Linked DNA regions of Homo sapiens: region 1 is linked to region 2. The links are contacts of gene promoters, found by promoter capture Hi-C in blood cells and fetal thymus (Javierre and others, 2016). All regions are on one chromosome and are shown on one strand. Each heading gives the region's core, a stretch centred on a gene start or on the middle of the fragment in contact. The rest is flanking DNA. Distances are from core to core; before and after follow the strand shown. Region 1 overlaps TTC21B (tetratricopeptide repeat domain 21B). Region 2 holds the start of SCN1A-AS1 (SCN1A and SCN9A antisense RNA 1).

The links. Contacts are between HindIII fragments. The CHiCAGO score rates a contact against its expected background, and 5 or more counts as called.
Region 1: a fragment that was not itself captured here is called in contact with the fragment with the promoter of SCN1A-AS1 in region 2 in 1 of 17 cell types (monocytes); the score reaches 5.4 in monocytes.

What each region holds. Positions count from the first base shown.
Region 1 is chr2:165,946,244-165,950,965 of GRCh38, forward strand. It overlaps TTC21B (tetratricopeptide repeat domain 21B), which reads right to left. Exons shown (of 29, transcript NM_024753.5): 2 at 3,352-3,481; 3 at 3,151-3,261. It overlaps TTC21B-AS1 (TTC21B antisense RNA 1), which reads left to right. Exons shown (of 4, transcript NR_038984.1): 2 at 954-1,098; 3 at 1,645-1,682; 4 at 1,792-2,078. Among named protein-coding and RNA genes, the nearest start is that of TTC21B, 5.2 kb to the right of the region's middle. The HindIII fragment of the contact is 1,308 bases long and covers 2,753-4,060 here.
Region 2 is chr2:166,078,096-166,083,325 of GRCh38, forward strand. SCN1A-AS1 (SCN1A and SCN9A antisense RNA 1) reads left to right here and starts at 3,436. Exons shown (of 12, transcript NR_110260.1): 1 at 3,436-3,583. The region is part of intron 2 of SCN1A (sodium voltage-gated channel alpha subunit 1); the gene reads right to left. The HindIII fragment of the contact is 13,795 bases long and covers 527-5,230 here.

The DNA.
Region 1 (4,722 bases), core at 2,157-4,656, 130 kb before region 2:
CAGGAGAATGGCGTGAACTCGAGAGGCGGAGCTTGCAGTGAGCAGAGATCGCGCCACTGCACTCCAGCCTGGGTGATAGAGCAAGACCCCGACTCAAAAATAAAAAAAAAAGTTAAATTTTATTTAAAAATACTTGATTTGTAGTTTTCATAAAACTTATGGCTGAAAAGCAGATTTTTAGACTCAAGTTACTCCTAAATAAGTTTTCTAATAACTGAATCAAGTATCATTTTTAAGTTTAAAAAGTAAATTAATTAGAATTAAATAAAATTTCAAATTCAGTTCCTCAAACTTGGTAAAAAAGCTGTATATGGCCAGACATGGTGGCTTACACCTGTGATCCCAGCACTTTGGGAGGCCGAGGTGGGTGGATCACCTGAGGTCAAGAGTTCGAGACCAGCCTGGCCAACATGGCGAAACTCCATCTAAAAATAAAAAACAAAAATAGATGGGCGTGGTGGTGGGTGCCTGTAATCCCAACTACTTGGGAGGCTGAGGCAGGGAGAATTGCTTGAACCCAGGAGGCAGAGGTTGCAGTGAGCCTAGATTGCACCACTGCACTCCAGCCTGGGCAACAGAGGAGGTATATGGTTAAGGATCACTGTAATGCACAATATAGCTATAGAGTTTACATCATTCCCAAAATAGAAAGGCTGTATATACTAATATTTTTTAATAATAAGACTTATAAAAATGTATAATGGTTCTAACCACAATTATTAGGAACAGGTCCAGTACTGGTACTCAACGTATTAATAATTCTTAAATACAATTCTAAAATATATAAACATGCCAGCTACTGTTATGGGTCAGTAAAAAGATGGCATAATTGCTGTTATAGTTTAATACTGACTGCTCCCTTAAATAGATAACTCTATTCACTTACATTAAGTCTATACACTCTCTCTCTCTCTCTCCCCTCCCCCATATATATATATATATATATATATTAGTATCTGCTTAGGACACAGAAGTCAATTACACCCAAACCCTGGATGGAATCAGAATCAGAATCAGCCATGCAATGAGGAAGAAGAAATGTAAGTTGCGGCCTGTGATTCCAACAGTTCTCTTTCTGGAATGGCTACCAAGAGAAAGGTATGTGACTCTTCCTTTCAACTCTAATGATACAAATTTAAATGTGAAATTAACAAGGTACAATCTAATGAGTGAAGGAAACAAAACTGTTTCTGTAAGTCTACAGATTGCTTAGCAAGAAGACCCTTTTCTCCTCTCCCCACTCCCCACCCCTACAACCCCTTCAGAAGTGTTCATTAAACAGCCATGATACAGAAACAGAAATAAGAAAACAAACAAACAAAAAAAACAACCACCAGGCAGAAGCAGGCATTGTACAGGAAATCTTTCCTACTCAGATTTCCATCACGTCCCTAATGAGGTATCAATCAGCTCTAACACCGTCTGCACAAAGTTGTTGAAAGATCGCAGCCTTTTTATAAGCAGGGTTTATTTACATCAGCATCCTGGAAGGAATGTATACTAACAATCTAGGACTTTCCTAGGCAGTATTTACAGACATCTGGGCCCCTACTAGAGCTCAAGTCCATTCAGCATCATCCTTGGTGCAAAGCAGAGTTAGCACTCAGGTTCCTCTGAACAGTATTTCTGATTCTGTCATTTCAGTGTCCTGCAAATCACAGTGTCCAACAGAATCAACACTGGTAAGAATAACCAATTAAATAAAAACTTGATTCTAATAATAAATTATTTTGTACTAATTTCTTCAATCTATACTAACTACAGCTCTCCCATGAAAATTTTCTGCTCTAGCTAAACACACTCCCACTGGAGTACGGAGAAAGGGGATCCACAGAAGAGCCTAATCCTGAACCACTTCCATGTATTTGCCCATCCATTTCTCCTCTCTGGCCAATACTCTTCATATTCAAATTCTACCAGTCCTTCAAAGATCAGATTAAGTTCCAAAATTTCAAAAGCCTTCTCAGCCTACTCTTACAGCTGAATAGTGCATACCAACTTCAATTAATTATAAACTCATGTTTCATTTTGTATTATTTAATAGAAACATTGGAATTTAATCTTTGTGTTTTTTACATTTTGTTTTCTCCACTAGATTACCAACTTGATGACATGAACCACTTATTAGAATTCTTTTGTAGCTTGTAACTGTATTAGGCACAGTTTCTTGAAGAAATTAAGCACATATTTACATGTTTTAAATAACTTTGTATTGATTTGCATATGTATGAAGGAGGTATGTCATACTTGGCTTTAGAAAAAAGTCTCGTCTAATATTCAAGGAACCAGTCTGTGACCTTTGTTTATTATGTAATTTTTTGAAACACAATCTATATTTACAATCCTATTAGCTGTTACTGGATATATATTTATGGAAGAATATAACACTACTTCTTCTTTATTACATACAATTTGGATACTCTTCTGCCTTCGCCATTAACTATACATTAAGACAGTTCACATAACTTTATTTTTTATTTTCTGTTTTTTTTTAGAGATGGAGGTCTAACTATGTTGCCCAGGCTGGCCTCGAACTCCTGGGCTCAAGTAATCCTTCACCTCAGTCTCTCAAGTTGCAGGGATTACTGGCTTGAGCCACTGTGCCTGGCAGTTTACACAACTTTAATTGCTGGTTTATGTATAAATTTCCTTCTATAATCTAGTCAGAATCTAGTCAACCTACTACTGCATAAAAATTTGCTGAATATCTCCCAAGAGCTAGCCCTCATAAAGGGTTTTAAGGCTCTCAATAAGCTTAATATACAGAAATAAACTGCATTGGCTGTATATTTGCACAAAAGTTGTAAACTTGGCTGCTGCAGAGCAATTTATGTACATACGGTACCTGTTTCTTTGGCTGTCCTTTTTTTGTGTAACAATTACTAATATACATTCCCTTTTATCTAAAAAAATCCCTATGTACTAATGAAACCTCTGCCAGAGGATATAAGGAACACGAAAATAGTATAAGACACATTTCTTGTGCCTGATGAATTTACACCCTTGTCAGGAAGATAAACATATGTATAAATTGTACCTACAGAAAATACATAATATAGTGTGATCAGACTGAATGACTTGGTAACTGAGAAAAATAAAAATAAACTGAATAGGAAAAAATGTCCTAAGCATTGCATTTAAATATCATACCTGGATTAGGACTCATTTTATGGGCATATATCAGTGCAAGTAGAGAACAAAGTGATACATCTTGTTTATTTTTAATAGCCTCAAATTCTCGAAGAGCTTCTTGAGTTTTACCTGAAAATCAAGATTATGATATGAAAAACTGTTCTTAGTGCAAAGCAAGAATTTAAAACTGATGGAACATGTTTAATGATTAACACGTACCTTCCATTAATGTGCCATAGGCATGATAAAACCTGAAGACTGGATCACTTCCATACCTCTTAATTCCTTCACTGGCAACCAGTAATACATGATGGAAATATCTCTCTTGACAATAGTAATTAATCAAAGTCTAAATGGAAATAATGAAAAAATGTTATAAAGGAATTCTGGTGCTCTGAAATACTCTAAGAAGCAGATAATAATCTAACATCTAGAATAATGTAAAATTCAGGCAATGTGACTTTTTTCTTCCAAGTTTCTTAAAATACTATTAATGGCTAGAACTCAATGCTAAGGATTGCAGAACTGAATGATCATAAAATTACTGAAATAATTCAATGTTTTCTAATAATTTAAATTATTTTTCCTAAGTTTTTGTTAACAGCACCGAAATGAGGCTGCTTTCACCTTTTTTCCTTTGCCCACATTTTCTTGAACGTTTTAGAAAACAGAAAGGCAGACAATAAACAGGAACTAAAAAAAAAAAAAAAAAGACAAGAGGCTTCCATTGCCAGACCATAGGTTTCTTTAAAAAAAAAAATCTTCTTTTTAAAATATCCAGTATTTTATTACAGCATTACAAAGTAATGACAAATTTAATTCTTCAACATATCATCAAATGTTATCTTACTCGGCTTTGAGTTCTGCGACAAATAAATTGTCAGTTAAGAATAAATAAACTATTTTTCAATGAAAATCGTTGTCTTTAAGCTTTTTCCAAAGTTATATTATTTCCATATACAAGACAAAACTACTATCAGGACCTACTAACTTCTGAATAAAAATGGGCCTGTGCTGTCTACCATTTTTCCTACGATTATGTCTAAGGCTTGGTTGCTAACCTCATCAAAGACAGAAACCACACTTTCCCACCATCACTAGGATACACCTGATTCACCAGAAAGCAGTTTGGGCCACCCCATACCTACCTACCTGGACTCTACAGCTTGTTCAGTAGCAGTGAGAAATACAGGTGACTAAGTGACAGGATTGAAATCTAAGGGTATCTAGACAGCTCTGGTTTGTTTGTTTTGTTTTGTTTTGGAGATTCTGTCACTCAGGCTGGAGTGCAGTGGCGCAATCTCTGCTCACTGCAATCTCTGCCCCCTAGGTTTAAGCGATTCTCCTGCCTCAGCCTCCTGATCTGGGACTATAGGCACACCCCACCGCACCTGGCTAATTTTTGTATTTTTAAGTAGAGATGGGGCTCCCCATGTTGGCCAGGCTGGTCTTGAACTCTTGACTTCAAGTGATCCACCCGCCTGGGCCTCCCAAAGTGCTGAGATTACAGGCGTGAGCCACCACGCCCGTCCGACAGCTCTGTTTTATATAGTCTCTTGCTTCTGGAGGGCTATAGTCCATGTACTTCTC
Region 2 (5,230 bases), core at 2,186-4,685:
ATTATACATTTGTGCAAACCCATAGAATGTACAATACCAAGATTGAATTATAATGTAAACTATGGACTTTGGGTGATTATGATATATCAAATTGGGTTCATCAGTTGTAACTATATACAATACCTAAACACTGTCTCTAAAATAGCTCTTGAATCAAAGAGGACTTTGATTCTAATACATATAATATAGCACATATGTTAAAATATACCTATATACAATACAGGTATATTTGAACTGCGTTTAATTTGTTAATTTAGGGAAAAAATTAATTTTTTTCCTAAATTAATTTTCTTCCATTGTATTTTTTCTCTTCTAAATAGATTATTTTTACAGTAATACATATGTGCTACTCTGGTGCGAGATATTGATAGTTGGGGGAGGCTCTGCGTGTGTAGAGAAAGGGGAAACTCTATATTTTTGGCTTAATTTTGCTGTGAATCTAAAACTACTGTAAAACTAGTCTATTTCAAAGAGAAAAAGTACAATGGAAGAAATGTTTCTAAATACAATGTAAGCATTTTTTAAAAGCTTTGAATAAACCAAAAGTAAATATAAATGGATGGAAAGTTATATCCTATTATTAGATAGGAATGCTATATCATAAAGATATTAATTTTCCCTAAATTAATAAATTAAATGCAGCCTTTGAAAAATAATCACAAAATTCATATAACTAGAGAAATCTATTTGAGACTTCATGTGGAAAAATAAGCAAACAAGAATAACCAGAAAATTCTTAAAATGAATTTTGGTTTCAAAGTCCTCACTGATGCAAGAACTATTTAAAAGAAAGTGTTTAAATTTTTCAAATGATAGATTTTCCTTCTAAGTTTTAAATTTATGTTTAGTTTTATTACCCTATGCTCTGATAATGTAGTTCGTACCATTTCTGTTTCTTGGAATTTATTGTGATTTATTTTTATCCTAATAGAGGTTGTTTTTAAAATGACTTTTCTAAGAACATTAAAAAGAAACTTATTCTTTATTTTAAAGCAGTAGAGTTCATTATGCCTCAATTATATTGATCTTATTTCTTATCTTATGTAGACCTTCTATGTCTGTACATATTTTTTTTCTACTTGACTGTTCCAAGTTGGGAGAGGCAAATTAATGTCTATTTAATGTGTTTTTATTTATTGTGGTTTCTGTCATTTTTGTTCTATGAATTCCAATGCGGTATTGTTTGATGTGTAGATAACACTTATGATCAGATCTTTGGAGTGAATTGAACCCTGTACTTCCTTAAATGGCCCTTGTTTATCTTACTGTAGTTTCTTCCCTTTAAAGACAACTTTGTCTCATAGCATATAATGACTTTAATTTCTACTTATTTGCACTTATCTAGTATGTCTTTTTCCATCAATTCGGTTTCATCCTTTTCATTTTACTGTTTTAGCACTTTCCTTAATATGTATATGTTTAGATATCATATATAGGTATATTTTAACATATGTGATCATTACGACAATCACCGTCTTTCAGAGTGCCACACTTGATGTTATTGTCCATGAAGTTGTGTGAATGGACAGAAACAGTTACTAAAAGCCTTCCTATTCTCCAGAAATACTGCATTTGAGAAAAGCTCTCTAAAGAAAATCTCCCTGGTCACTAGCTATCATTTACTGGAGAAATAAACAACCAAGAAAGTAGAAGACATGAATTCTACACTGACAAATATGATCAGTTCAAACGTATTATATATAATTATAAATTAGTTAGATACAGGAATTATATTCATATGTAAGCAATATAACCCATATTATAATGAAATCATACTGATACTAGAAAAAGTATTTTTTTAACTCTAAGTAGATCTTCTATTCAAATGCTACCTAAAAATAAATTATGTTATATTAATTATAAGAATAAAACTCATTAAAAATCTCATAAGGTTAATTATGAAATACCTAAAAAACTGTCAGATGTCATTCAATATTAATATTTTTTAGTAATATGAAAAATTGTTCTAAATTACATTTGAAATCTGTACTTATTCTATTAAAATACAGAAATAAATCATGAATTTTCCATTTACACTTACAAAGGAGATTTCACCTCTTTATTCTAAAAATTTATAACAGAAGACTTAATTGTCCTAATTTATGAAAATACATGTCACTAGATACGGGGTAGTAACCTCATAGAATCTGCAGTTTTGGCTTACAGCTTTCTCTTTTCATAAAAACCAGCATTTAAATATTTGGTTACATAGAGGAGACCTTGCTCCTTTCAAAAGAGGTAAGACAATGAAACTTTCCTAACAAGAGAAGACTTCAAAGAGAGAGGCCTTTTCAAGATGATTATGGTTATGCATTTGGACAAAATAAAATTAAGAAGAGAACTAAGAAACCATAGCTAGGAAGAAAAAGTAACAAAGTGCATGTTAGCAAACTTCAAATCTGAAGGAATTTTAAAAAATATTGGAAATAAGTAGAGTAGTGGGCAATAGAAAACTGGAAGAAGAATGATTCTTTGGAAGACAAGAAAAATACATTAAAAGTGGAATTCAATTAGATAAGCAATCCTAAAGAAGACAGGAAAAAAATAATCCAAAAGAACATGAAATGGAAGTGAGAGATCATGGGGGAAAAAAAAGATTGTAAGAAAATGAAGTGGAAATTTTGAGTGGAAAGAAATAGTAAAGTAATAGCAATAACATGACCAATATCAAATAACGTGGACAAAAGAATTATAAGGAAAAATTTGTTAGAATATACAAATAATAAATAAAGATATAATATCATCTGGTAATATCTAACTGAAAGAAAAAGAGGGAGGTAAATCTGTAGCATTATAATTAACAGATTACCTTCTCGGGAGACTTTACAAGATCAGAAAGTTAATACTGATAATATTCAGTGTCATTTCTAAGACTTTACTAATTCATTACTTATCATAAATGTTCTAGTACTAGATGAGGTTTTTGCTTCTGGGCATTATATATCTCTGTTTCCCGTAGAAGAGGACACATGTATTACGTTCTGGACTTGAGGAGGCATTTATCACAGCCAAAAGATGTTTATACTTGAGGTGACTGGGAGTGGTAAACCATATGGCTTTGGTGACCCTCAAAGTGCAGATGGAGGAGCTTTATTTAAAGTAATCCTAACCCATGAAGCCTTACAGTTAAACTCCCTTGGGCATCTGCTTTTCTCCAGTCAAACAAATATGTACGATAGCTCACAATGAAGTATTTCATTTTCCCTGTGGCATTTCACACAGAAGTCTTAACTGTAAAGGCAACCTTATAAATGCTTTGTACCCGAAGAAACTGGCCTTTTATAAGTAAATCATTATGTAGTTTCTTCCTTTGGAGGGCAGCTCTGTGTGACTGCTTGGGCCTCTGTGGTTAGATCTGTTTGGTTAACGGGCTTTTGGGCTTTCACACAAAGCTATACTCTCCACAAACTTCTGTGAGATAAAAAGGTGATATCTGTCTTAGTCCTCTGAATATTTTTTCTTTGTTCAGAACCTGAGAAAGATGAATGAAATTTAGTGTTTCCCATCCCCGAGAGACACCCAGCATCCACAACTTCACACTCTGATGCCATTGTGTATTTATGCAAGAAATACCATAACTAAGGTAATGTCTTGAGATTTTTTGGTTCAATAATGTCCTTAAATTCTATGTTGTTTTTAAAGCCTAAAAGAAATTCCCCCTCCTCACTCCCCCGTCTCTCCCTACAACCTGGTGAGACAATTCTCTCATTTTCTCCTCCCAGTTTCCAATGCTATTGTTATGATCTATTAGAATAATTGCTATTATTTTTTTGCCTTATCTGACCCTAGAAGTGATTTACAGGGAAAAAAATTACTAACCAATTGATTAGTGAACTGAATATAAAGTGCAGCTCTTATGGTTTATTCACAGACAAGAATATATATAGTACTTAATGTGATAGTATTTTGTTGTTGATGTGGAACAGTGTTAGTCTATAATACAGGCTTTCAGGCAGACAAGACCTAGTTTACCTTGACCTCTGGACTTCTGAAAGGTTGAGTAAGTTATTTTAAGAGAATTAGACAAAGATAAGTAAATCAAAACCAATAAATGGCAAAGATTTAAAAAACAGAGATTAGTCTATTCCTCTCATTTAATAGAAAACAAACTGAATCAAAGAAAAATGGGCAATTTCTTTGTTTAGAACTTATGTGCTTCCTACTTTCAAAATAAATATGTCATTTGTCCCAGGTTACGCAGCTTATTAATGGTGGGACTTAAATCAGAACTTTTATTTTCTAACTCCCAAACCAGTGTCTGCCAGGTCCTAATAGTTATGAAATATTCTTTTAAAGCTAAATAAAATATATGAAAATATAAGTAGCTGTGTTAAAATAGTATTTATCTACTCTAATTGATCTAGGTCTCTCCAAGGAATTTATATTACTTGGACAGACCCAAAACAAATACAGTAAATAAAGCATTCTGGCAAAAATGGAGACTTCAAAATTTTGAAAAATGGGAGACTCCAAAATTTAAAAAGATGATTGTAATATTCAAGTTTAGAATCATATGATGCAGGTTTTAATCCTGCTGAACTATACCTCCACCGTCAATTTATGTTTTACTTCCGTTATGTTTTATGTATTGCTAAACTGGATTATTTCTAGTTACTAACTGAGCAGATGACTTTATATAATTTATCTGTAACTCCAAAGTTCAATATAGTTGTGCAACATTTATATATCTTCACCACCTTATAATATATAATCTGATGTGGAGAAAAATTATATATCTTCAATTCTGTCTATAAAGTAGTTTAATATCCATACTGAAGAGAAACCAAAAAGACTTCTGCCAAAATGCTTGCCATCTCCTTGTAAAGAGCTATTACTATTCTGGGGACATAAACCATCTGGGCACGACAATTTGTGAAGTGTTTCAGTTCGTTTTGTAGTGTTCTTGCCACCTACTTTACAAAAGAATGTTACTGCCAATAATAATAAAAATAACTAGGTAAAATGTTATTCTTACTGTTGTGATCTCACATAACTATTTTTTAGCAGCCAAGAAAGAAATTGGTTTTTACATAGAAATCCCAAACCTAGAAAGTATTGTTTTATAAATTTCTTTTCTAGAAATAATTTGATTTGGTGTAATTATAATTACAAAAATATTTCATTTGATTTCTCAATAAGCCAATTTTTAGTAGGTTGGGGTTAACTAAAACAACATATTTCAGCCATATGTTTAAAACTTTTACATTTAAAAATAACTTCATTATCTACC